7 separate regions of the Homo sapiens genome follow, and regions 1, 2, 3, 4, 5 and 7 are each linked to region 6. The links are contacts of gene promoters, found by promoter capture Hi-C in blood cells and fetal thymus (Javierre and others, 2016). All regions are on one chromosome and are shown on one strand. The core of a region is centred on a gene start or on the middle of the fragment in contact, and the rest is flanking DNA. Distances in the headings are between cores, read along the strand shown.

Region 1 (3,730 bases), core at 657-3,156, 840 kb before region 6:
TTTTTAAGGATTATGTCTTGAACTGTGTCCTCCCCCCAAAATAGATTCAAATTCTAATCCCTGGTACTTGTGAATGTAAGGCAACCTGAGAAATGTTTACCTTATTTGAAAGTAGGGATTTTGCAGCTATAGTCAATTTAACATGAGGTTATATTGGAGTAGACTGGGTGCTTAATCCCTTATGACTGGTGTTCTTAGGAGAAAAGAAGAGACATAATGATAGGAAGAACACTATGCGACAATATAGGTAGAAATTGTAGTGATGTATCTACAAGTCAAAGAAGACCAAGGATTGCCAGCAGCACTGGAAGCTGAGAGAGAGGTATGGAACTGATTTTACACTAGAGTCTTTAGAGACTAACACCCTGTTTACAGCTTAATTTAGTACTTCTAGGATCCAGAACTGTAAGCATAAATTTCTGTTTAAGCCACCCAGTTTATTACAGCCCAGGTGCCAACTTCTTTACAGCAGCCCCAGAAAGTGACACAGAGCTATTTATTGAGATGTATGTTTGCAGGTCTGAAATGATGGTTTCAGTTTTAAATATGTTAACTTTTAAATGCTTGTAAGACACATCTTGAAATACAACAAAGGGTTGACTTGTTAAGGCAGATTCCTAGGAATCGTAGACACTATCAAACACTAAATTTTACTAATGATTCACAATGGGTATAAGCAAACCCAGGCACAAATGCAATATTCGTCTTTGAAGGATCCCAGGGCCTGTCAGACACAGGTCCCTAATGCCATTCTCTTTCATGGGCATGCATTGGTATTGGAGTAACAGAAGGGCACTGACAGTATGTCCATGAGATCCATGCTGGTCCAGAGAACATTGCTTGGGTTCAGGGTTTCTTAGTTACTAGTTTTCTAGGGCTGCCATAACAAAGTGCCACAGACTGAAGGCTTAAACAACAGTAATTTATTTTCTCAAGTTTGTGGAGTCTGGAAGTTCAAGGTCAAGGTATTTGAAGGTTTGGCTTCTCCTGAGGCCTCTCTGCTTAGCTTGTAGATGGCTGCCTTCCTGCTGTGTTTTCACATGGCCTTTCTTCTGCATGTGCACAAGCCTGAGGTCTCTTCCTCTTCTTATAAAAACACCAGTCAGCTCCTGGACTCATTGATTTTTTTGAAGGGTTTTTTGTGACTCTATTTCCTTCAGTTCTGCTCTGATCTTAGTTATTTCTTGCCTTCTGCTAGCTTTTGAATGTGTTTGCTCTTGCTTCTCTAGTTCTTTTAATTGTGATGTTAGGGTGTCCATTTCAGATCTCTCCTGCTTTCTCTTGTGGGCATTTAGTGCTATAAATTTCCCTCTACACACTGCTTTGAATGTGTCCCAGAGATTCTGGTATGTTGTGTCTTTGTTCTTGTTGGTTTCAAAGAACTTTATTTCTGCCTTCATTTCGTTATGTACCCGGCAGTCATTCAGGAGCAGGTTGTTCAATTCCCATGTAGTTGAGCGGTTTTGAGTGAGTTTCTTAATCCTGAGTTCTAGTTTGATTGCACTGTGGTCTGAGAGACAGTTTGTTATAATGTCTATTCTTTTACATTTGCTGAGGAGAGCTTTACTTCCAACTATGTGGTCAATTTTGGAATAACTGCGGTGCTGGGAAAACTGGCTAGCCATATGTAGAAAGCTGAAACTGGATCCCTTCCTTACACCTTATACAAAAATTAATTTGAGATGGATTAAAGACTTAAATGTTAGACCTAAAACCATAAAAACCCTAGAAGAAAACCTAGGCATTACCATTCAGGACATAGGCATAGGCAAGGATTTCATGTCTAAAACACCAAAAGCAATGGCAACAAAAGGCAAAATTGACAAATGGGATCTAATTAAACTAAAGAGCTTCTGCACAGCAAAAGAAACTACCATCACAGTGAACAGGCAACCTACAGAATGGGAGAAAATTTTTGCAATCTACTCATCTGACAAAGGGCTAATATCCAGAATCTACAATGAACTCCAACAAATTTGCAAGAAAAAAAAAAACAACGCCATCAACAAGTAGGCGAAGGATATGAACAGACACTTCTCAAAAGAAGACATTTATGCAGCCAAAAGACACATGGAAAAATGCCCATCATCACTGGCCATCAGAGAAATGCAAATCAAAACCACAATGAGATACCATCTCACACCAGTCAGAATGGTGATCATTAAAAAGTCTGGAAACAACAGGTGCTGGAGAGGATGTGGAGAAATAGGAACTTTTACACTGTTGGTGGGACTGTAAACGAGTTCAACCATTGTGGAAGACAGTGTGGCGATTCCTCAGGGATCTAGAACTAGAAATACCATTTGACCCAGCCATCCCATTACTGGGTATATACCCAAAGGATTATAAATCATGCTGCTACAAAGACACATGCACACATATGTTTACTGCGGCACTATTCACAATAGCAAAGACTTGGAACCAACCCAAATGTCCAACAATGATAGACTGGATTAAGAAAATGTGGCACATATACACCATGGAATACTATGCAGCCATAAAAAATGATGAGTTCATGTCCTTTGTAGGGACATGGATGAAGCTGGAAACCATCATTCTCAGCAAACCATCGCAAGGACAAAAAACCAAACACCACATGTTCTCACTCATAGGTGGGAATTGAACAATGAGAACACATGGACACAGGAAGGGGAACATCACACACCGGGGCCTGTTGTGGGGTGGGGGGAGGGGGGAGGGATAGCATTAGGAGACATACCTAATATTAAATGACGAGTTACTGGGTGCAGCACACCAACATGGCACATGTATACACATGTAACTAACATGGAGAAACTGCACGTTGTGCACATGTACCCTAAAACTTACAGTATAATTGAAAAAAAAAACAAAACACCAGTCACATTTGATCAGGGCGTCAACATAGACAACTTCATTTAACCTTAATTCCCTCTTTAAAGGCCTTATCTCCAAACACACTCAGAGTAGGGGTTATGTCTTCAACATATAAATTTTTGGGGGGACACAATTTTCTTTTATAACATTCACTCATGAACGACCAAAGCAAAACAAAATGTTATAAAAGAAATTTTGCTTTGGTCATTCATGAGTGAATATACTGCATAAGTAACTTCCATTGACAAATTAGCTATATCTCATAAGTTCTAAGTATTTTTTTTTTGTTTTGTTGTTGTTTGTTTGTTTGTTTGACAGAGTTTCACTCTTGTTGCCCAGGCTGGAGTGCAATGACACTATCTCGGCTCACCACAACCTCCGCCTCCCGGGTTCAAGTGATTCTCCTGCCTCGGCCTCCCAAGTAGCTGGGATTACAGGCATGTGCCACCATGCCTGGCTAATTTTGTATTTTTAGTAGAGATGGGGTTTCTCCATGTTGCTCAGGCTGGTCTCGAACTCCCAACCTCAGGTGATCTGCCTGCCTCGGCCTCCCATAGTCCTAGGATTACAGGTGTGAACCACCGCACCCTGCCCAAGTGTTTTAACAATAAGCAATGTTGACGGTGAACATTTCTACAAGAGCAAATAGTCAATATTGTCACTACCTCTTGCACCTAGAGATGAAAGGAGTTACACACCCACTGTGAATTCTTTCCTTCCTTTCTAGAATTTCAAATGGAATAGTCCAAAAGCATTTGGTAGGAGGATTTGAAGTTCAGGAGAGAGATCCAACTTAAATACACAAATCTAAGAGTCATCACTATGATTGTGGTAGGTGAAGCTATAGGAATAGACAAGCTCATTCATAGAATTC
Region 2 (3,914 bases), core at 302-2,801, 920 kb before region 6:
TATCCAGGTGATTTGAAGTAGACACTGTTGCATGATTCTGTTTTCAATTTGATGAGTTCCTTAAGCTGCCAAATTTCTACATTAAATTAATTAGTTTCCTTGGGGAAAAAAGTGTGGCTTTTTTATTCTTTCAGTAATGAGAATTTCATATTGAATTTTCTCTTATAACTAGACTTGTCTCAAACCCCAATTCATCTCCTTTATTCTCTTTTATCCAGTCTTTTCATGGCCTTCCATTTTTACTTTATTCACATATTCATCCTATTATTCTTCCATCCACCATTCATTCAAAAAATAAGGATTAATTTCCTACTGTATACTAGACACTGAACTATTAGTTCCAAACACAGTGAATAAAAAGAATGCATTATCTGGTTTGCAGAAACTGCGACAGAGACAGTGAAAGAAGGAAAACAAAGAAAAAAGCTGTCATAGAAAGAAGAGAGAAGGGAAAACAGACAAATAAATAAAGTCATTGCAATCTGTAGTCAGTGCTATGAAGGGCAAAAGCAAAGCTGAGACAAAATAACAGGAAACCCTGTATTTAATAATAGATAGGATGGTCAATATTTTTTTCTTTGCAAGTGCCTTGTTTGGAACTGAAATAAGGGAGACTCTTGCTGTGTTTTAGCAAAGAGACTGGTGGTATTTTGCCCCTGCCCTAGAGATTTGTGGATTTTTGTGCTTGAGAGATGATTTAGGGCATCTGGTGGAAGAAATTTCTAAGAAGCAAAGTGTTCAAGATGTGATTCAGGTGCTGTCAAAAGCATTCAGTTTTATGTATTCACAAAGATATGGTTTGCAATTGAACCTTATGTTTAAAAGGGAAGCAGAGCATAAATGTTTAGAAAATTTGCAGGCTGATGATGTGATATACAAGAAAAACTCATTTTCTGAGGAGAAATTCAAGCCTGCTGCAGAAATTTGCATAAGTAATGAGGAGGTAAACATTAGTCACCAAGACAATGGGAAAAATGTCTCCAGGGCATGTCAGAGATCTTTCCAGCAGTCTCTCTCATCAAAAGACTGGAGGCCTAGGAGGAAAAAATGGTTTTGTGAGCTGGGACCACCACCCCCCCTGCTCCATGCAACCTGGGACTTGGTGCCCTGCAACCCAGCCGCTCTAAATGTGGCTAAAAGGGACCAAGGTATAGCTTGGGCCTTGGCTTCAGAGGGTGCAAGCCCAATGCCTTGGCCACTTCCACAAGCCTGCAGGTGCACAGGAGTCAAGAATTGAGGTTTGGGAACCTTCCCCTAGATTTCAGAGGATGTATGGAAATGCCTGGATGTCCAGGCAGAAGTTTGCTGCAGGGGTGTGGAGTTAGAGCACTCACACAGAGTCCTCACTTGGACACTGCCTAGTGGAGCTGTGAGAAGAGAGCAACCATGTTCCAGACCCCAGAATAATGGATCCACTGACAGCTTGTGCTCTGCACCAGGAAGAGCAGCAGACACTCAACGTCAGCCTGTGAAGGCAGCCAGGAGGGGGACTGTACTCTGCAAAGCCACAGGAGAGGAGATGCCCAAGGCTGTGGGAGCCCACCTGTTGCATCAGCATGACCTGGATATGAGACATGGAATCACAGGAGATTATTTTGGAACTTTAAGGTTTAATGACAGCCCTATTGGATTTTAGATTTGCATAGGGCCTCTAGCTCCTTCATTTTGTCCAATTTCTCCCATTTGGAGCTGGTATATTTACCCAATGACTGTATCCCCATTGTATCTGTGAAGTAACTTTTGATTTTACAGGCTCATAGGCAGAAGGGACTTGCCTTGTCTCAGATGAGACTTTGGACTGTGGACTTTGAGTTAATGCTGAAATGAGTTAAGACTTTGGGGGACTGTTGAGAAGGCATGATTGGTTTGAAATGTGAGGACATGATATTTGGGAGGGACCAAGGGTGGAATGATATGGTTTGGCTGTATCCCACCCAAATCTCATCTTGTATTGTAGCTCCCATAATTCTTTTGTGTTGTGGGAGCGATACAGTGGGAGGTAATTGAATCATGGCGGCGGGTCTATCCCGTGCTATTCTCCCGACAATGAATAAGTCTCATGATATCTGATGATTCTATAAAAGGTAGTTCCCTGCACATGCTCTCTTGCCTGCTGCCATGTAAGACATGACTTTGCTCCTCTTTTCCCTTCTGTCATGATTGTGAAGTCTCCCCAGCCATGTGGAACTGTGAGACAATTAAACCTCTTTCCTTTATAAATTACCTGGCCTCAGCTATGTCTTTATTAGCAACATGAGAACAGACTAATAAATTTTCATATCACCACAATAGTTTTTAATTAATTATTTAAAACATGACTTTTAAGTAGATTAGGTGACTTTACCCTTATTTTTTCCCTTTCATTTTCAAACTACTTAATGGCTCATCTCACACATTCAGGCTGGCAGATTAATTTTAGGATGACATGTATATGATCTTTTTTTCATGAAAGCCTGTAACTAAATGTTTCTTAGACTAGTGTTAAACATGTAGAAATTTGATTATAATTTACATCTTTACAACATTAAGTCTTCCAATACATGAACTGACGTGTCACCATTTACCATGTATTCAAATCCTTTTTTAAAGTTTCCAAATAATTATGGGAATGTGTGTGTGTGTGTGCATAGAAAATTGTGTGTATGTATATTTTTTCACATACTCCGTAAGTTTATTCAATGTTACGTTTTTATTCATATGGTGAATAAGTTTTTTTCCAATCTATTATCTATGTGGCTCTTAATCTAAAAAGAAGATTTTTGATTGGAATCTTTGATTTTTACTCACTACTTCATTGTAATCTATAATCATTAAAACAATTCTTGAATTCATTTTCCTGTGTTCTGTAGATAGAAAATTATGTATTTTAGGATTGATGATATTCTTGCTACTGCCTGTTAGATTGTTGTGTTTGTGAATTTATTGGCTAGCACTGTCTGAACACAGTTAATTAACAGTAGTGACACTAGGACCCCTGGGATTGTTTTACTTTAATAGGAATTATCCTATTTCTTTAATAAATTCTTTCATCAATTTTATCTTACTGATGACAATATTTTGAAAATTTATGTCAGAAATGTTTTATTTTACTTAAAAATTGTTATTGAATTTTATAAAATATATTTTAATCTTCTATTAAAATGATTTCATTATTTTATTTTATAATATTTATAATAAATTTCATTAGCAGTTTCCTTAATATTAAATAATTTGCACCACACAAAAAATAAGTTTTCTTGGTAATTATGAAGCTTACTTGCAAAACTTTATGCAAAGTTTTTGAACTTGTATTAGGCAGAATTGCTCACAAGTGATGACTAATGAAGGCCGTATTTGTCAGCTTTTGGTCTCTGAGGTATAATAGCTGTATAAAATAATTGTGACTATGTTCTCTTTCTGTAAGATCTATAGAGCTTGAGTTCAACTAAAGCACTCTTCTTAATTACTAACAATTTTTTGTTACAAAAAGAAAAACCAAACTAAATTGGAAGACTTTCTGAATATCTAATGTTTTTAAAATAACAGTTCTTTTAAACTACTGCCTAATGATTTTATTCACTACCTCTGTCTGAGAGAAGCCAAAGTTATTCATTCCTTTTACTTAATCCAAGGGAGATAATTGAATAGAGAAGAAAGAAGAATTGTATTCTTACATTTCTGCCTTTATGTCTCACCTGAAATCTTCTGATTAAACTTTTTATTGCAACCTCGATTAATAATTTGAAGAAATGGTTTTAGCTTGTGCTATATGTATCATAATTAATATTAAGCTATCTAAAAATGTGTAAAAAACCGTGCAGACACAAGAAAACTCCATAAGGTGAGGAGGTGACTTAATATGGTATACAAATAAAATGGGAAAATTTACTATGAAGCACTATAAGCAAAAAATAAATTTTATGTCAATATGTTAA
Region 3 (3,636 bases), core at 600-3,099, 880 kb before region 6:
ACATTCTTGTCAGTATAAAGCATAATTTCGACATATCAGATTAGAAATAAAATGAGAGACCCAGAGTGAGGAAGAGTGTTAATTTGAGTGAGGCTTTATTCCATCTTTTAATTTCTGATGATTAATCTCTAAAGTAGTGCAGATAATGTGAGCAATGCATGCTACAGAAGGGAAGCAGTGTTTATGATTTAAACATTGGATTTTGTGGTAAAGGAAGAGAATAGGAAAGAGTGATTTAGTAATTTTGACAGGCATGCCAATAATGATTCTGTGGCATGAAAAGGGATGAGAGTGGAGGGAGAAATTGATGATGTAATAGAAACACCAGAGAAGCTCTCATTCCTGTGTTTCTGGCAAGAGAAACAGAGTCAAATTTATTCTAATATTTTAGAGAATCTGTTCAGGAAAAACAGGAGGATATGAAACTTGACAGTCTTATTGCTCACTACATAACAAAGCAGTTTCCCGAATAGCACAGAAATGTTACGTGATTGGACAGGAAAAGTAATGTCATTATTAAAATGATTGCTAAGGCACCAGAAAGGTTAAATCTAATTATGAAATTACCAGGTTCCACCCACTAACCTCTGTTCATCCTGAGTTAGCTTCAGTATGAGTCTACATTTTTATAATCTCAAAAGTGTGGCATGAGGTTTATTTCTGAAGTGATAGCATTGCATATAAAATTTCATTAATACCAAATACTTCAGATGACATAGTGTGACAAAAGTCTTGGATAGTCAAGAGAATGGCTGAGTGAAGGAGAGAAACGACAGCTGAATACAAATGAACTCAGCAAGAGGTATCTAAAATTTCAATATGAAAGAAGGCAACATAGAGAAGCTAGAAATCAGAATAAAGACATTTTGCTACTGTTTCATAATAAACAATGATAACCAGCTGCTGTTTACAACACGCATGATTCTATGAAAAACAGTCATTTTTTCATCACCTCTGGCATTTATTTTAACCCCTGCTGTGGTGGTGTGATATATGGAGGCACATCAAGTCTTATTTTTTCTGTGATTTTGAGTCATTAAATATTTGAGTGCTAGTTGTTACTCAGATGAGAGCCAAAGCATTTGGCAATTAATAGCAAATGGATTTGGAAAGGGGTAGGGCCTCACTAGTATAACTTCCTAAAACAGTATCTATAATAAATGTAAATTTCTCCTGAATTGTAACTGTTTACATGGAAATCTAGCATAGAGTAGGATCCTAAAATAGCCAAATGGAAAAACCCTAGAAAGATATCAATTCAATAAATAATTGGTATTGATTTTTTACATTTTGTTATTGAGTAGTTAGTTTTTGTAAGCAACGGATGCCTAAAACTGTGAGCCTGTGATACAGTTGATCAGACCCAGGCTCCTTTTAGTTACCAAGGAAACCATTTCATAGACATTCACATAAATAAACTGTAGACAGTGGGAGGAAACACCATAAATACAGAAACGGTTTCACTTGATTTTTTATTGCTATGAGAAAAACTCTCTCTTCCTGTGGCCATACATGCACCAAAAAAAAAAAATACAGAAACATGAGGGCAATACCTTGTACATGACACATGCAGGTAGGGTAATTACTGCTTTTATTCAAAATGTGAAAATTAACGTTGGAAATGTCGCTCAAATTGCCAAAGTTTTCCAAATCTGACATGATCATAACGAAGACTTATTTTCATTTGAATTTTAATGGTTTTCTCACCTACCTATTCACAAAAACAGGTCTTGTATTTTACTTCTTTTATACACCTACATCTCAGGAAAAACAAGTAGAGACCATTTTTTCTCTTGGAAATTTTGTAATAATAGCCTAACAAAGAAAAGCTCAGGAATGTTGCAAGGTTGTATTCGCAAATCGTTTGTCTGAGTTGGCTGCAAGACGTATCTCAGGCTGTGATGATATGCACAGACATTTTTCTGTGCACATGATCTCTGAAAATTATCAGACATCTAAATATAAATCAAATCAAATGAAAACAAAAACAATTTTTAAAAAAATCTGCTTTTTAGGTAGAATAACAATTACATGAGTTGATATTTTATCCCTCTCTTCAGTGATTCTTTGCCATTAGGTACCTACCTCAACCTGTTTAATTAAAGGGTAGAGTGGACTCTTTTGTTTTGGCTGGCTTGCCACACTGCCCACGTCCTGTGTTAGTATATTCCTCCGTTTTCCTTCATTGTACTAGCTGCTTCCTAATTCCAGGACATTATCCGGCAGGCCTGATGAGACGCACTGCCCCCAGGGTGTAGAGGTGAGCCTTGATCCAGTCTGTTTCTCCATCAAAGTGACACAGTTAGATGTTGCTTGGAGCCCAGTTCCTGCTGTGAAAATCCCCGCTGCTTCTTCTGTACCCATCCTTTCTGAGGTCTGGCTTTCAGGATTTTTAAAAATTCTACCAGCTCCTCTCCAGCCTTCCAATGTATTTACCTTTTCCTTTAAATTTACTAGAGTAGGTTTCACGTAAGTTGAGCCAAAGAACTCCAAAAGATGACCCAGTAAGGTGCTGACCACTGCAGCAACGAATATTTTGTTTTAATAACAATTACCATAGCTTCCTCATAATCATCAATGCAGAAAATGTTCTATATTCACAAAACTTTCCTGAGTGACTTTATTCTAAGTCAATGTATTATTTTTAACTATCATCGTATCCAGAACTAAATAGAAACTTTTATTTAGTTTTAAGGAACACAATCTATTTCTAGAAGTCTAGTTTTGGAATAAAGATATATGTTCAGCCGCTTTATGTCATTTATTATATTAAATGCTAAGATTTTACTCATGTTCAATAGTGAACAGAGTGATCAATGCCCAGCAAACTTCCGATTGAGTCCCACACGGATTTCAGCGAATAGAAAACCTCTCTATTCAGAAAACATTTATAAATCTAGGAAAAGATGGTGCAAACTTGTAACTATGCAATCATCAGGTATTTATCAAATGTCATTATGGGCCAAGCATTGTCTAGTCAGTGTCTGGATAGAGCAGTGAGCAAAAGGAACAAGATTTGTGTTTTATGCTTACAGTATACTAAGAACTGTAATATAGTAATAATATATTTACTTGTAGTACAAACTTATAATAAGACTTACTATAAGAGTATATTATATATTTATAATATAGTAAGGATGACATTATATCCCTGTAATATAGTAAGGACTATATTATATCCCTGTAATATAGTAAGGACTATATTATATCCCTGTAATATAGTAAGGACTATATTATATCCCTGTAATATAGTAAGGACTATATTATATCCCTGTAATATAGTAAGGACTATATTATATCCCTGTAATATAGTAAGGACTATATTATATCCCTGTAATATAGTAAGGACTATATTATATCCCTGTAATATAGTAAGGACTATATTATATCCCTGTAATATAGTAAGGACCATATTATATCCCTGTAATATAGTAAGGACCATATTATATCCCTGTAATATAGTAAGGACTATATTATATCCCTGTAATATAGTAAGGACTGTAATATAGTAATAATATACTTACTTAAATATAGTAAGAACTTATAGTAAGACTTACTATACTTATCATATAGTAAGACTATATTATATCCTTATAACACAGTAAAACTATACTATATCCTTAAAATATAGTAAGA
Region 4 (4,180 bases), core at 927-3,426, 830 kb before region 6:
TTATATTTTATGACTGTAATATTGTAATACACATTTGCAGCAGATATATTGGTTTCCAGGGAAAAAACACTGCAATCTTAATTTTAAGATCTAACAAAATGCAACTGCTCATCTGCAAGAAAAAAGCAATGTGGTCGTATGTTATTCTTGAAGGTATTTCTATATTTAAATTTTCTTTTTATTATAAATATCAACATTTCAGGATTCTAAATAGTAAATAGCTTTGCAATCAAAAGATATTTAGGGAAAAACTGATTTCAAATATCTTTGAGTAGGAATGTCTGGTAATTAAGTCCTAAACTTTCTACAAAAAATTACAGTCCACCTACAACAGTTCTGGTACAAAAGTAACTTCTTGAATAATTAGACTGGCTTTGTTCTTTCCTGGAATCATCTATTAGGCAGCTAACTGCCAGTCTAGAAAAATTTTTAGGAAGCAAAGTAATGACCAGTGGGTCTTATCTATAGCATTAGAATGTGATCATGCATGCCTAAGAGGTGATTTGATATTTAAATGTGTATATATATTTCTATATCAAGGTCACTAAAATGAGGAGGAAACTTAATATGACTACAATATCATATGAGCCAAAACAGATATTTATAAAACTGCATATTGAGATGAAATCTGATCTCCATGCTCGTCTCTCTATTGTACAACTGACGCATGTTGACTATGAAACTTTTAAGACCTAATTTTAATTTTGCTCATTGTGTGTGTGTGTACAGTTCTGGTTGGGTATTTATAAAACACATGTAATTTGTCTAGTCTCTAAAAGGAAAAAAAAACTATTTTATGTTGTTTTACAGTTATTTTTAATACAATAATTAATTTATGTATGTGTTATCGAGTTCATATACTAACATATACTTAACAAGAGAAAAATCAAGCTCTACAGAATAAGAATTTTAGAATATTATAATATAAAAATTATAAAAAGTTGATTGAGTAGAAAAACAAATGCTATCTTGCCAATAAATCGAGGTAATTTAAAAATGTTCCTGAGTGATGGTTTTAAGAATCAGTCATATCAAACCATTTTGGAACAGAATATTCCACTTCTGTTGATAGCATTTCAATATAGAAAAAGAAAAAAATGTTTCAAAACCATTTTATGAAGCTTTGATATCAGAGTTTATTTGATGAAGGTCAAAACCCAATGAAACTCCCAAATATAGATTTAAACCTTACAAATAGAGATGAAAAACTTCTAGATAAAATATAACCTGAATATGTTGAAAGATATAGCCCATAATCAGAAAGGATATATTCCAGAAATGAAAAAAATAAGTGATATTAGAAAATCTATCTATATAACTCATTACACCTCTAGATTTAAAATTTTTAAATAATATTTAGATATATAATAAAAGGCATTTGAAATTTGAAAATACATTTCTATTAAAGATTTTTTTAATACTCTAGGTAGAAATATGTTTTATTTTTATTATAAAGGTGTTTATCTCCAGTCAATGGCTAAGAATATTTACAAAGATGAAACATTACAAGGATTTTTAGCGATGGAATCTCAAAAAAAAAGAAAAAAAATGAAGAAGGAGGGGAGGGGAGGGGAAAGAGAAGGGAAGGGAAGAGATCAAGAAATTTAATTATATAAATCCTAAACAAACAGTGCTTTCTGGGGTCACAGGAGAAAACACATAGGGCATCACTAAATCACTTCACCTTGCTTCCTAACAATCCCCAACCACAAGATGGCCCTGAGTAATCAGAGGGTAATTCCATTCCCTGTTTGTGGTTGATTCAGGAACACAGGTCTAAGCCTTATGGCAAAGAGTTCATGAAAAGGAGAGTAATTCAAGAAGAAGACTGTCACTGGATCAGGGAGCAGGAGGTTAGCTGAGGAAGGGTTTCATAAACTAAAGACAAAACCACAGGAAGGAACAACTTCTTTATCCTCCCTCTGGATATTACCGTCTGTGCTGTGAAGCCTTGAAATCTTGCAGCCATCTTATTTGACTGAAGATAAAGTTGGCCCATAGAATTCAGCACTGAAGCATTAAGACAACCCCAAAGCCATCTTCCTCTTGGATGTCTGTTTATACGAGAGAAGAAGCCAGCTTTCACTGGGTTTTCTATTCCTTATAATCTAAGCAGGGGTCAGCAAACTTCAGAAAAGTTCCTGTGAGTAAATATTTTAGGCTCTGTGGATCACACAGTCTCTGTTTTTCAGCTCTGCCATTTCATTGCAAAAGGCAATACGTAAACAAAGAGTCACAACTGTGTTCCAGTACATCTTTATTCACAAAACTAGGCAGTTAGGATACACTCCCATGTTTTCTTCTGTAACTTCTGTAGTGTTAAGATTTACATTCAAGTCTTTGATCCATTTTGAGTTAAATTTTGGCATAAGAGACAAGGTGTGGGTATGATCCAGCACCATTTGTTGACAAGACCATTCTTTCTCCACTGAATTGCTTCTGTCTCTGTCAAAAATTCATTGACCATATTGTGTATAAATCTACTTCTGGATCCTCCATTCTTGTACCTTGATTAGTCTTTCAATATTATACTGCTGATTACCATAGATTTTTTAAAAATCTTAAAATTAGATAGTATAAAAGCCTTCCAAATTTGCTCCTCTTTTCCAATAGTATTTATTCATTGTCATACAAATTTTAGGATCAGTTCATCAATTCCTACTAAAAAATTGAGAATTTTGATAGGAATTGTGTTGAATTTATAGATTATTTTGGGGAGAACTGATATCTTAACAGTATTGAGTTTTTTGATCCAGGACCAGGATATAGCTAACAATTTATTTGCATTATATTTATTTCTGTAGGTAGTGTTTTCTAGTTTTCAGTATACAGGTCTGACACATCTTTTGTTAGATGTGCCACTATGTATATAATATTATTTGTGCTATTATAAATGGTATTTTAATTTTCAATTTCTGATTATTTGTTGCTATTATATAGTTTTTTATATGTCAATCTTGTATTCTATGATCTTGCTAAACTCACTGTTTAGTTCTAGTAGCATGTTTACAAATTTCATAGAATGTTCTACATAGATGATCATATCACCTATGAATAGATTATTTTAATTCTTATTTTACAATCAGGATCCTTGTAATATATTTTTCTTAACCTACACACTGTTTAGGACCTTCCAGTACAGCATTAGATTTTCTGTGTCTCTCTTACTTTTGCACTTCAAAGATATGCACATTCTCCAAAAGAACCCTGTGCTTAGAATTTAGAAGCTTTCTGTTGCTGAAACTGACCAGTATTAATTGGGAGTTAATTAATCCAACTAAGTTTACCTGGGTGTAGCTTATTTGAAATTTTGTACGTTATTAAGTGAAAAAAATTGTAGCACAGAAATACTTATTTGTGTGTGTGCATGTATGTAGAGAGAAACTTATCTCTATGTTTTAAAAAACATGTCTGAGCATATTATGCAAGTATCACTGTGTGCCTGTGTGTGCTCATGCTGTGTCTAGCTGAGTGCGCCAAAATGCACTCTACATTGTGAACTCTACTGACCCGAAGAGAAAGAAGTATTATTAGAGGTGGGGCATAGAGAAAAATCTCATATTTTACAACATAAAATGTAATATATTTTGACCTTTTTATAATGAGGCTTATCAATCTTGCAATTTAACATACGCATTTAAAAAACAAAAGCCTATGCATGGGCAAGGACTTCATGTCTAAAACACCAAAAGCAATGGCAACAGAAGCCAAAATTGACAAACGGGATCTAATTAAACTAAAGAGCTTCTGCACAGCAAAAGAAACTACCATCAGAGTGAACGGGCAACCTACAAAATGGGAGAAAATTTTCGCAACCTACTCATCTGACAAAGGGCTAATATCCAGAATCTACACTGACCTCAAACAAATTTACAAGAAAAAAACAAACAACCCCATCAAAAAGTGGGCGAAGGACATGAACAGACACTTCTCAAAAGAAGACATTTATGCAGCCAAAAAACACATGAAAAAATGCTCACCATCACTGGCTATCAGAGAAATGCAAATCAAAACCACAATGAGATACCATCTCATACCAGTTAGAATGGCGATCATTAAAAAGTCAGGGAACAACAGGTGCTGGAGAGGATGTGGAGAAATAGGAACACTTTTACACTGTTGGTGGGACTGTAAACGAGTTCAACCATTGTGGAAGTCAGTGTGGCGATTCCTCAGGGAT
Region 5 (4,171 bases), core at 732-3,231, 950 kb before region 6:
ATAGGATTGTTGGGCTGAATGAGTTCTAAGATCTTTGAGAAATCTCCAAACTGCTTTCCACAATATCTGAACTAATTTATGTTCCCACCAACAATGTATAAGTATTTCCTTTTCTCTATAGTCTCACCAACATCTGTTGTTCTTTGATTTATTAATAATAGTTATTTTGACTGGTGTGAAATGATATCTCATTGTGGTTTTGATGTATCTCTTTTATGATAAGTTATGTGGAGCTTTTTCTATGTTTGTTGGCTGCTTGTATGTCTTATTTTGAGAAGTGTCTGTTCATGTCTTTTCCCTACTTTTTTATTAGGGTTATTTGCTTTCTACTTGATTATTTCTTTAAGCTCCTCATAGATTCTGCTGGTAAGAACTGCCTTCTTTAGTATGTCAGTTGCATATTTTACTTCCAGAATTCCTGCTTGATTCCTTTTAATTATTTCAATATTTTTATTAAATGTATCGAATATGCTTCTAAATTCCTTCTCTGTGTTATCTTGAATTTCGTTGAGTTTCCATTTTGAATTCAGTCTGAAAGGTCGCATGTCTATGTCTCTCCAGCATTGTTCACTGGTTCCTTATTTGGTTTGTTTGGTGAGGTCAAGTTTTCCTGAATGGTCTTAATGCTTGTGGATGTTTCTTGGTGCCTGGGCATTGAAGAGTTAGGCATTTATTGTCTTTGCAGTTTAGGCTTATTTGTACACATCCTTTTTGGGAAGACTTTCCAAGTATTTGAAGCGACTTAGGTGTTATGATTTAAGTTTTGGTCACTACAGACATATCTGCATTAGGGGGGACTCTGAGCCCAATAATGTTGTGGTTCTTTTAGATTCATAGAGTTACCACTTTGGTGGTTTTGAATAAGATCTGGGAGAATTCTCTAGATTACCAGATGAAGACTCTTGTTCTTTTCTTTCAGTTTCTCCTGAGAAAACAGAATTTTGCTCTCTGTGCTAAGCTTCCTGGAGCTGGGAGAGTGGTGACACAAGCACCCCTGAGGCCACTATCACTATAACTCTGCTGGGTCAGACCTGAAGCAAGCACAGCACTGGTTCTCATGCAAGGCCTGCAGTAGGCACTGCCTGGCTATCGCCTATGTTTGCTCAGAGCCCTAGTGCTCTATAATTAGCAGATGGCAAAACCAGCCAGGCTTGTGTCTTTCCCTTCAGGAAAGATACCCCTGTCCCCATATGTGAGCTAGGGCCTAGAGTCAGAAACCTTAGGAATCTACCTGGTGCTCTATTCTACTGTGGCTGAGCTGGCACCCATGCCATAGACAAAGTCCTTCCCACTCTTTCTTCCCCTTTCCACAATCAGAGGAGTCTCTCCTCATGGCCACCACAACCCCAGGTCCACAGCAATTACTGCTTGGCTACTGCTGATGTTCACTGAAGGACCAAAAGCTCTTCAGTCAGTTTGCAGTAAATGTCAGGAGGCCTAAGAGTCTCCCTCTGGGTAATTGGGCTCCCATCTGGCCCTGGTCAGGTACAGAAATGTCATCTAAGAGCAAAGGCCTTGAATTGGGGACCCTAAAAACCTCCTTGGTGCTCTCCCCCACTGTGGCCAAGCTGGTACCCAAGCTGATTTTTGGTTCTCATGAAGGTGCTTTTTGGGTTGATGAGTGTTCAATTTGGTCTTCCTTTGGGGTGGATGATCAGTATAGACTTCCATTCAGCCATCTTGCTCCCCATCATCCCAACTTTTATTTTAGATATGAGGGTACATGTGTAGTTTTGTTACATGGGTATAGTGTGTTATTGTATTAGTCCATTCTCATGCTGCTAATAAAGACACACCCAAGACTGGGTAATTTATAAAGGAAAGAGGTTAGTTGACTCACAGTTCAGCATGGCTGGGGAGGTATCAGGAAACTTATAATCATGGCAGAAGGCACCTCTTCACAGAGTGGCAGGAGAGAGAATCAGTGATGAGTGAAGGGGGAAGCCCCTTATAAAACCATCAGATTTCATGAGAATTCGCCCACTATCATGAGAACAGTATAGGGGGAAACTGCCCCCATGATTCAATTACCTCTCACCAGGTCTCTCCCACAACATGTGGGGATTATGGGATTACAATGTAAGATGAGAGTTGAGTGAGGGCACAAAGCCAAACCATGTCAGTTATGCTGAATTTTTGCGTGCAGATCCTCTCACCCAGGTTGTGGGCATGATACTTAGAAAGAATACTTATGAAAAACAAACAAAAAAACCACCTAAATCTTAATAAGAACAGTTAGCTTTGTAGCATTAACTCGCCCTAGTCTGATTCCTCTTTCTGGAGCTATGTGGTATCCCTATAGCTTCATAACTATTGTAGCTCTGAAAATCAGCAGCCTATCAGGTGCTGAAAGGGACAACTTCTGTATCACAAAGAGCTTCATCTTCATAAAATTATTATTATTTGCCTTTCAGAAGATTTCTGAAAACTTCATTTCTCAAGTCTTATCTTTTTTTGACCCTAATTGGAGCTTGTTTTGCATGTACAACAATATCCCTAGGCTGTTTGCCGAAACCAATCAGCAATTGTTATTTAACATGGTGGTTGCCTGAGGTGGCATTACCAATTGTTGGTAACAAGAGGCTTACCAAAAAAGTTAGAGTAACTAAAAACATAAATAATCTGTCTACAGCAGACTTTGAATGCCACTAATATATGCCTGGGAGTCTAGAATGCCACACACATGTGCGATACTCTGGCATACCCAAGAAAGATCTGGGAAAGCCAAAATGTTTTACTTTTGAATAACCTTGCTGTGCTGTGTAAGAAAGAAGAGAAAGATAAAGTAGAGATATAAACTGTCCCAATGTAGTTTTTAAAGCATTCCGTAACACACAAAGGACTTCAGAATAGAATGGTAGACATATTTGTTCAAAGGACGTAAGAAAATTTCTGTAAGCTAAGATAACCAATCATAAAATTCAGTAGCTGCACAAAACAAAGAATATAGATTTTACAGCATGTGTCCCAGAAAGTTATTAAACAAGCAGCAAAAGTAAGCTTTGGGGAGAGAGATATCTTATTTCCAGAGTTGACACATTATATTATGTAAAATATACAGTTCAAAATAAGAAATTATGACACTTAAAGAAACAGATATGTATGGCCCATACACAGAAAAAAAGTCAATGGAAACAGTCTATAAGAAATACAGATGTTAGACTTACTAGACAAGGAGTTTAAATCAGCTGTTGTAAATATGTTCAAAGAACTAAATGTTATCATGACTAAAGAATTAAAGAAAAGTATAAGAACAATGTCTCATCAAATAGAAAATATCAATAAATAGAAATTACTTTTAAAAATAAATATTCTGGGGCTCAAATGTACAAAAGCTCAAATAAAAAATCTGAAAATAACAAAAACTGAAGCATGTTTAACAACACATTCAAAGTGGCAGTAGAAAGAATTAGCAAACTTAGATCAAGTGAAATTATTCAATATAAGAAATAGAAGAAGAAAAATGGACAAAACCTCAGAGACCTGTGAAAAAACATTATGCATATGAATATATGCATAATGGGATTCTCATTATGGATAAAACAAAATAAAATTGGCAAAAAGAATACGTAAAGCAATAATGATGAAAACTTCTCCAACTTGATGAAATACATTAATCTCAACATCTTAGAAGCTTAATAAGCATCAGGTAGGAGAAACTCAGAAATTCAAACCTAGACACATCATAGTCAAACTGTTGGGAACCAAAGACAAAGCTTCAAAGCAGCAAAAGAAAAGATACTCATCATGCATTCAGAGTCCTCATTAACACTAACAGTTGATTTTTATCAGCAACTATGGAATCCAGAAGACAGTGAGACAACACATCTGAAGAGCTAAAAGAAAAAGTTTGTTAAACTAGAATCTATAAACTGCAAATCTATCTTAATAAAGGGTAGTTAGGACATTCCAAGAAAAACAAAAGCAGAAAGAATTTATTTCACATAGACCTATTCTACAAAAATTAATAAAGGATGCATTCAACTGAAAAAAAGACATCTGAAAGCAACTTGATTCCACACAAAGAGCATTGATAAAGTTAACTATACAGGTGAATATACAAGGCAGTATAAAAGTTTTTCTAAATTTGTAACTCTTTTACTATCTAATTTAAAAGACAATCTAATAAGGTAGTAATTATTAAACTGTATTGATGGACCTATAATATATA
Region 6 (4,112 bases), core at 1,160-3,659:
AGTCCCTTTTTGTGTGGTAAAAACAAACTACCTGAAAATAAATCTAAATGGCCATAACCTGGAAAATAGATCATCTGAAAGAAAATCAGCCATCAAAGGTATATCATGGCTTCTGTTAGGTAATGGGGAAAAAGGAATCATTGCGAACCTAATCAACCAGCTTCACCCCAACGACTGCCTTCTTTCTGCCCCCATCAGATTTCCATCTGGACGCCATTCGCCTTTTGGAATCCTTAATGAAACAATGAGTTCGGAGTCCAGAGAAAACAGAAAGGGTTAGGATCCCGACAAGGTAATCGTTTTCTTCTCTCCGGTTTTTGTAGGCCATCTTGTTCGAATAAACGCCAAGATGTCTTAATTTTCCCCAGGTGGTGTCACTGGAGGCAACGCCCACTGACAGTTTTGAGGCCACCTTCCCTTAATCAAATGACCAAAAAAGATCTGTCAAACGGTTAATTGATGCAAATTAAGAAAGCCACCCTCACTGCAGTAAGATATGTTACAGGAAAAAGAACAATGAACAGTACTAGAAAGGAAAATAACAGTGTGCGGGTACAAAATATTTAATCCACAATTTGCCTTCATCCTCATCAAGGCAAATCTTAATTTTGGTCAATTGAAATCAGCAAGAAAGCAAAAGATGAGAGACAGCCTGGAAAAGAAGAAACACACACACAGGCGGGAAAAACTGTCATTGGTGTCCAAGGGTTTCCCGCAACATTTAGGGCAAACGCCTTTGTTCCTCGGCTCGGGAGGGGAGTGGGTGGCTGGATGATGGAGATGGGATGGGGCTGCCGGGCCCTCCACACCCTGCTCTCCGGCGCATGCGCGAGGCCAAGACAAAGGAATAGGTAATTACAGTCCCGATTCATTCATTTTGCCTGCAGTATACTGGGGGTCTGTTGGCCCGGGCTGTAATCCCGGGAGGTGGGGGTGGGGGGTCGGTCCACAACCCTATAGCAGAAGGCCATTTCGACGCTAGTGTTGGGTTTTAGCCCGCCCCACAGTGCGAGTGGCCGCGGGGGAGACAGAGGTGTTGTCAACCTGTACAAGGTCCTAAAAAATGCACCCATGTGTGCTGTGCTAATTTCAGCAGAGTGAGAATTACATGGGCAAGGGCTGTCCACCGAGTTCGTTTCAAGGCGGAAATGTCTCTGGGGACGCAGATAAGGAGCCTGGCCAAGCGTTCGATGAATATTCATGAAAAGAATGCGGTTTGCAGCCGCGCATTGTGCGTGCGATCGGATCCAGGATTCCGCAATTTTTATTTTTCTGGAAATGGAGGGGGGACGGGGGCGGGGGGAGCAGGAACCGGGCGCCGGGTTTCAGCTTTAGCGCTTTGGGCAAAAGCTGCTCAACCCCAACCCTACGCTCCCAGCGGGGCTGAGCCCAGTTAGGGCCGCGCGCTGTCAGGTTCAAGCCCACACCCCCCGGGCCCGGGCCGGGGCCGGGACCCAGGGCGGAGGCGCCTGGCGCATTCTTGGAACCAAAGGCTCGAAAAAACAAACTGCTCCGAGGCAGCCCACGGGTTCGTAGGAAGGCAATTCCGCCACTGACGAGGCTGGGGCTCCGATCTGCTCGGGAGGTGCTTCTGAGTGCACGTCGCCGTGTGAACCTCGTATTCCTTGGCCCCAGAACCAAGATCCAGGAGTCCCATGGGTCGAGAAAACCCGTTTGCCAAAGCAAAAAGCCACCCACTTCCTTCTGATCGGGCCAGATTCCCCATCTTCTTTCTCCCCGGACTCCCGCCCCACCCCACCCCCACCCTCCATCTTTGGCTGCTGCGCCCCTCGCCCCGAGCGCTTTCTCCCAGGCTGGTAAGGGCTCCGATGACGGAAGCGCTCCCTTCAGCCCACAGAACCGTCTCCCCGGGACTCAACGCACTGAGGGGGTTTCGCATTCGGCAATTCCTCCCGTCACCCGCAGCTCCTCTCCCCGACAGCCCCCTCCCCCCAGCTCCGTTTACCAACCTCGCCGCCCCCCTCACCCCTCCACCATGCGAGCGGCTGAAGCCTCCCACTTCTGGGCCCCCCATCACCCGGGATCCCCGAAGTGCGACGGAGCCCTCACAGAGGGACCCCAGGCCCTTGCCGTCCAATCCGGGCCCACATCCCTGCTGCCCGCTGCATGAAGGGAGAGCCCGGGGGCTGCGGGGCGGGGCGCGGCGCGGTGGGGGACGGAGGCCCCCGGGTCCGCGGCGGCGCGGGGCCACCGGGCGCGCCTCCTTACCGGCTCTGGGTGCCTATGCAGCCCCTGAGTTAGCGCGGTGCCGCCGAGAGGCCGGGGTCGCTGGCGTCGTCTGGCTGGTGCCTGGCCGCTGGCGGAGGCTCTCTCCCGGCTCGACGGCGGAGCCCGGAGCGAGGAGCCAGTTGGAGCGCTGCCGCCGCCGTCGTCGCCGCTGCCGCTACTGCCGCCGCCGCCGCCGCTGCAGCCTCTGCATTTCTCGCGCTCGCTCCCCCTCCCCTTCCTGCCCAGTGCCCTCCCCCCGCGCGTCCGCCCGCCCAGCCTCCCTCCTCCCGCGCTCCCCGCCCGCCTCTCTCCCCTCCCTCCAGCCCGGCGCCCCGCCCGTCTCCCCTCCACCCCCTCCAGCTCCATCTCCCCACCCCCTGCACTCCCTCTGCTCCCCTCCCCTCCTCCGGCGCAGACCCTCCCCTCTCCCCTCCAGCCTGGACACGCCCGCCTCCCCTTGACTCCCCCCAGCTCTGGGCCCCCACCTCCCCTCCCCTCCAGCACAGTCACCCCCATTTCTCTCCTATCCGCCATCCTGGTTCCTCCCTTCCCCCCACCTCCCAACTCTGTGCCCCGCCAACGTTTCCTAAATGCCCTCTATTCAGATCCCCCCTCCGCCTCCCCTCTCCTCTCCTCCATTCCTGCGTCCCCCTTCCCCCGCCGCGCCGCCTGGGCTGTCCGTGGACTTCTCCCACTCTCTCACTCTCTCACTCACTCTCTCTCTCTCTCTCTCTCTCTCACTCTCTCTCTCTCTCTCCCCCTCATTTATTTGGAACCGTTGGATAAGAAGTGCTCGGGCTCTCGCTCAGACTTAGGGAGCTGCCTCGAGGTGATGAATGACACCCCCTGGCACCAGCTACCCTTCTCAGACCCCAGTCCAGCCCGCTCCCGACGTCGACTACGATTCCGCTACCTCGGCTGGCAGCGAGGTTGGGGTGAGCCCCAGCTGCAGGCGCGTCTGGGCTGCGCCGCTGCAAACGAGTTGCGCACCTTGGGCGGCTCCGCACCTGCACCCGCACCCGCGGGGCTCAGCCCCGAAGGCTGCAGCTTCGGGGGAGGCGCGGTCGCCGAGGTCCAGCTGGTGGGGCGAGAGACGTCGCCCCTCGGAGGATGCTCTCGGAACTTGGGAGAGGAAGGAGGGAAGAGAAGAGGGGAAAGGGGCCGTCGATGTTTTTGATGTCTGTGCTTTAATGGAGGCCACCAATATTGAGAAGACGGGGTTGGCCGAGGCAGCCCGCACGCTGCTGCTTGCGAGCGCTCGAGTCAAAGCTAGGGCCAACCGCGGCTTGTCCGGGTGCCCTAAGGGGGCGGACACTTGGTTTAGCACCGGGACACAGAATAGCCACCGGGGTAGGAAGATGCGTTCACTTTGCTTACCTGTTGGCAAGAGGGACATACAAAAATAACGTAACGTGACATCGTTGACAACGGTAGCTCTTTGATTACACAAAAGCCAATTTTACCTTCCCGCAAAAGCCAGTTGACGCCTTTGGAACTTTTATTTGCGGCATTTTGGCGCCCTCTGGCTGTGTTTGGATCGCTTTCATGCTCGCCTGCGTCCCAGCCAAGAAAAAATCGATGGAGCTGCAGGTTGTCCTCAGGATGGTTCTGCCCTCAGGACCTGGGCGTGAATTCAGGGACAGGGTGGCCCTCCAGAACCGGAGTGACAAACTGTAACCATACTTAGGGAGGCAGACGTCAAAGGCAAGTACATCTGTATTCAACTGGGTAAAGGTAAGTGCATTTTCACTTAACAGGAAAATTAACTTATCGTAACTTTAACGTACATATTTGAATTAAGCAAAGTGGCAATATTTACTCAACTGCACTAGCGATTTTGCAGTGGAAACACTTGACGACCCTACTGTACACATTTACAGGTC
Region 7 (3,783 bases), core at 1,077-3,576, 900 kb before region 6:
CTTCTGCTAGTTTTTGGATTAGTTTGCTTTTGCCTCTGTAGCTCTTTTAATTGTGATGTTAGGGTGTCAATTTGAGATCTTTCTAGCTTTCTGATGTGGGATTTAGTGCTATAAATTTCCCTCTTAACACTGCTTTAAATGTGTCTCAGAGACTCTGGTACATTGTCTCTTTGTTCTCATTGGTTTTAAAGAACTTCTTGATTTCTGCCTTAATTTCATTATTTACCCAGGAGTCACTCAGGAGCAGGTTGTTCAAGTTCCATGAAATTGTGTGGTTTTGAGTGAGTTTCTTAATCCTGAGTTCTAATTTTATTGCACTGTGTTCTGAGAGACAGTTTGTTATAATATCTGTTCTTTTACATTTGCTGAAGAGTGCTTTACTTCCAAGTACGTGGTCAGTTTTGGAATAAGTGTGATGTCGTGCTGAGAAGAACGTATATTCTGTTGATTCGGGGTGGAGAGTTCTGTAGATGTCCATTAAGTCTGCTTGGTGGAGAGCTGAATTCAAGTCCTGGATATCCTTGTTAACTTTCTGTCTTGTTGATCTGTCTAATGTTGACAGTGGGGTGTTAAAAATCTCCCATTATTATTGTGTGGGAGTCTAAGTCTCTTTGTAGGTCTCTAAAGGACTTGCTTTATGAATCTGGGTGCTCCTGTATTGGGTGCATATATATTTAGGATAGTTAGCTCTTCTTGTTGAATTGATCCCTTTACCATTATGTAACGGCCTTCTTTGTCTCTTTTGATCTTTGTTGGTTTAAAGTCTGCTTTATCAGAGACTAGGATTGCAACCCCTGCTTTTTTTGCTTCCCATTTGCTTGGTAAAATTTCCTCAATCCCTTTATTTTGAGCCTGTATCTGTCTTTGCATGTAAGATGAGTCTCCTGGATACAGCACACCAATGGGTCTTGACGCCTTATCCAATTTGCCAGTATGTGTCTTTTAATTGGGGCATTTAGCCCATATACACTTCAGTTCAGACAGAGTTTGATCCTGTCATCATGATGCTATTTATTATCATTGGATTTTAATGCAGTTTCTTCGTAATGTCATTGGTCTTTATATTTTGGTGTGTTTTTGCAGTGGCTGGTACCAGTTTTTCCTTTCCATATTCAGTGCTTCTTTCAGGATCTCTTGCAGGGCAAGCTTGGTGGTAATGAAATCCCTCAGCATTTGCTCATCTGAAAAGGTTTTATTTCTCTTTGCTTATGAAGCTTAGTTTGGCAGGATACGAAATTCCGGGTTGAAAATTCTTTTCTTTAAGAATGTTGAATATTGGCCCCCAATCTCCTCCAGCTTATAGAGTTTCTGCTGAGAGGTCCACTGTAAGTCTGATGGCTTTCCTTTGTAAGTGACCTGGCCTTTCTTTCTGGCTGCCCTTAACAGTTTTTTCTTCATTTCAACCTAGGAGAATCTGATGATTTTGTGCCTTGGGGTTGACCTTCTTGTGCAGTATCTTACTGGTTTTCTCTGAATTTGCATGCTGGCCTCTGCTAGGTTAGGGAAGTTCTCTTTTAACATGAAGGGATATGAATTTTATCGAAGGCCTTTTCTGCATCTATTGAGATAATCATGTGTTTTTTTTGTCTTTGGTTCTGTTTATGTGATGGATTACATTTATTGATTTGCATATGTTGAACTAGCCTTGCATCCAAGGGATGAAGCCAACTTGATCATGGTGGTTAAGTTTTTTTGATGTGCTGCTGGATTCAATTTGCCAGTATTTTATTGAGGATTGTACTCCAATCGATCGTTAGGTTTGGTCTTTTTATGAAGTCCCATATTCCTTGCAGACTTTGTTCATTCCTTTTCATTCTTTCTTCTCTATTCTTGTTTGCATGTCTTATTTCGGTAAGATGGTCTTCAAACTCTGATATCGTTTCTTCCACTTGGTCTATTCAGCCATTGATACTTGTGTATGCTTCATGAAGTTCTCGTGCTGGGTTTTTCAGCTCCATCAGGTAGTTTATGTTCCTCTGTAGACTGGTGATTCTAGTTAGCAGCCCCTATAACCTTTTTTCATGGTTCTTAGCTTCTTTGCATTGGGTTAGAACACACTCCTTTAGCTCATCGTAGTTGGTTATTATCCATCTTCGGAAGCCTACTTCTGTGAATTCGTCATCTGATCCTCCATCTAGTTCTGTGAACTTGATGGAGAGACCTTGCTATCATTTGGAGGACAAGAGGCACTCTGACCTTTTGGGTTTTCCACATTTTTTCATTGATTCTTTCTCACCTTCATGAGTTTTTCTAGTTTTGGTCTTTGAGGCTGCTGACCCTTGGATGGGGTTTTTGTGAGGGCCTTTTTGTTGTTGTTGTTGTTGTTGTCACTTTCTGCTTGTTTCTTTCAATAGTCTGGTCTCTCTTCTACAGGGCTGCTGCAGTTTGCTGGGGGTTCACTTCAGGCCTGTTCATTTGATTTGCTTCTGTGCCTGGAGATGTCACTCAAGGAGGCTGGAGAGCAACAAAGGCGGGTGCCTGCTTCTTCTTCCGGGACCCCTGACCTCGAGGGGCACCAACCTGATGCTAGTAGGATTGCTCCTGTATAGGGTGTCTGACAATCCCTGTTGGAGGGTCTCACCCAGTTGGGTTGAACAGGGAGCAGAACCCATTTTACGAAGCACTTTGTCCCTTGGTGGAAAGGGTGTATTTTGCTGGGGAGAAACTCACTCATGTGGGCTGCCTGGATTCCTCAGAACTACCAGGAGGAGAGGTTAAGTCTGCTGGTCCCCAAAGAGTGCAGCCACCCCTCCCACTAGGGGCTCAGGCCCAGGAAAATCCTAATTCTGTCCCTGAACCTCTAGCTGGAGTTACTGGAGATCCTGCCAGGAAGCCCCGCCCACTGAGGAAGGATGGGTCAGAGTTAGGCCTGAAGAGGCACTTTGGCCACAGATTACCACAGCGGGTGTGTTGGGCTATGGAGACAAGTCTTGGGACCAAGACTTACAGCCTCCTTGGCTCCAGCAGAGAAAAAGCACAGCATGGAGCTATAGAAATGCGTGCCACCCTTCCCCCACCCAGGGAGCTTAGCATGTTAGGCAGTTGTGAGTCCCATGGCTTAGACAGCAGGCAGCCACAGGGCCTGCTGATCTCCCCTCCCCCTAGGAGTTTGGTAGGCTTAAGCAGATTCCAGCTGAGAGGCTATAAGAATCTGCACGTTCTGGGGTTGGGACACTAGGCGCCGGTGGTGTGGGTTCGCGAGCGGGATCTTCCAATCTGTGGGTCACACAGTTCCACAGCAAAAGCGCAGTTTCTCCTGCTGGGTGGCACGCTCACTCACTGCCTCCCTTGGCTGGAGGAGGGTGTTCCCTTTCCTGTGTGGCTCTCAGTTGGGCCCTCTGCACCACACTGTTCTTCCTTCTCTCCATGGATCATGCCAGCCTTCTAGTCAATTTTGATGAGAGAACCTCGATACCTTGGTTGCTGCTGAAAGCTTGACATGCTTATTATGGTTTTTTTTCGATGGGGAGCCTCCTAACGCTGCTGCTTCTAAATACATATATATTCTTCAGTGCAAGGCAGTGGAAAGTGAGAAAAATAGGTTTGTAAGAGGAAAAAGAGTGATGGAGGTTGTCTCTATTTCAGTAGGTGGTGACATATTAAACTACATTCTTAAATATTCTGTATAAGTACAGCTTTTAAGGGAATACTTCTGTGTATTTCTAAATCATATTTATAGCAACAGAATTCTTTGTATCAGTTGGGATTCTGCATTTAACATAGGAATAAAATAGGCAATAATTTTCCATTAGTCCAGCCTATGTATATGTGTGTGTTTGTGTA

What was found. The method cuts DNA at HindIII sites, captures the fragments that hold promoters and counts their contacts. A CHiCAGO score of 5 or more calls a contact.
Region 1: a fragment that was not itself captured here is called in contact with the fragment with the promoter of BASP1 in region 6 in 1 of 17 cell types (M2 macrophages); the score reaches 5.0 in M2 macrophages.
Region 2: a fragment that was not itself captured here is called in contact with the fragment with the promoter of BASP1 in region 6 in 2 of 17 cell types (M1 macrophages and M2 macrophages); the score reaches 7.9 in M1 macrophages.
Region 3: a contact is called between a fragment that was not itself captured here and the fragment with the promoter of BASP1 in region 6, in 5 of 17 cell types (M2 macrophages, M1 macrophages, megakaryocytes and 2 more). The highest score is 12.5, in M2 macrophages.
Region 4: a contact is called between a fragment that was not itself captured here and the fragment with the promoter of BASP1 in region 6, in 1 of 17 cell types (M2 macrophages). The highest score is 6.0, in M2 macrophages.
Region 5: a contact is called between a fragment that was not itself captured here and the fragment with the promoter of BASP1 in region 6, in 2 of 17 cell types (M1 macrophages and M2 macrophages). The highest score is 5.6, in M1 macrophages.
Region 7: a contact is called between a fragment that was not itself captured here and the fragment with the promoter of BASP1 in region 6, in 5 of 17 cell types (megakaryocytes, M1 macrophages, M0 macrophages and 2 more). The highest score is 16.6, in megakaryocytes.

Annotation. Positions count from the first base shown.
Region 1 is chr5:18,059,989-18,063,718 of GRCh38, reverse strand. No RefSeq gene overlaps it. Among named protein-coding and RNA genes, the nearest start is that of LINC02223, 250 kb to the right of the region's middle. The HindIII fragment of the contact is 4,790 bases long and covers 1-3,730 here.
Region 2 is chr5:18,135,822-18,139,735 of GRCh38, reverse strand. No RefSeq gene overlaps it. Among named protein-coding and RNA genes, the nearest start is that of LINC02223, 330 kb to the right of the region's middle. The HindIII fragment of the contact is 3,404 bases long and covers 1-3,253 here.
Region 3 is chr5:18,096,644-18,100,279 of GRCh38, reverse strand. No RefSeq gene overlaps it. Among named protein-coding and RNA genes, the nearest start is that of LINC02223, 290 kb to the right of the region's middle. The HindIII fragment of the contact is 5,338 bases long and covers 1-3,636 here.
Region 4 is chr5:18,041,103-18,045,282 of GRCh38, reverse strand. No RefSeq gene overlaps it. Among named protein-coding and RNA genes, the nearest start is that of LINC02223, 240 kb to the right of the region's middle. The HindIII fragment of the contact is 2,106 bases long and covers 1,124-3,229 here.
Region 5 is chr5:18,167,192-18,171,362 of GRCh38, reverse strand. No RefSeq gene overlaps it. Among named protein-coding and RNA genes, the nearest start is that of LINC02223, 360 kb to the right of the region's middle. The HindIII fragment of the contact is 2,042 bases long and covers 961-3,002 here.
Region 6 is chr5:17,215,928-17,220,039 of GRCh38, reverse strand. It overlaps BASP1 (brain abundant membrane attached signal protein 1), which reads right to left and starts at 2,409. Exons shown (of 2, transcript NM_006317.5): 1 at 2,230-2,409. BASP1-AS1 (BASP1 antisense RNA 1) reads left to right here and starts at 2,618. Exons shown (of 3, transcript NR_027253.1): 1 at 2,618-3,963. RefSeq lists an enhancer at 509-1,289 and silencers at 1,324-1,643, 2,134-2,613. The HindIII fragment of the contact is 5,505 bases long and covers 1-4,112 here.
Region 7 is chr5:18,118,693-18,122,475 of GRCh38, reverse strand. No RefSeq gene overlaps it. Among named protein-coding and RNA genes, the nearest start is that of LINC02223, 310 kb to the right of the region's middle. The HindIII fragment of the contact is 2,219 bases long and covers 1,217-3,435 here.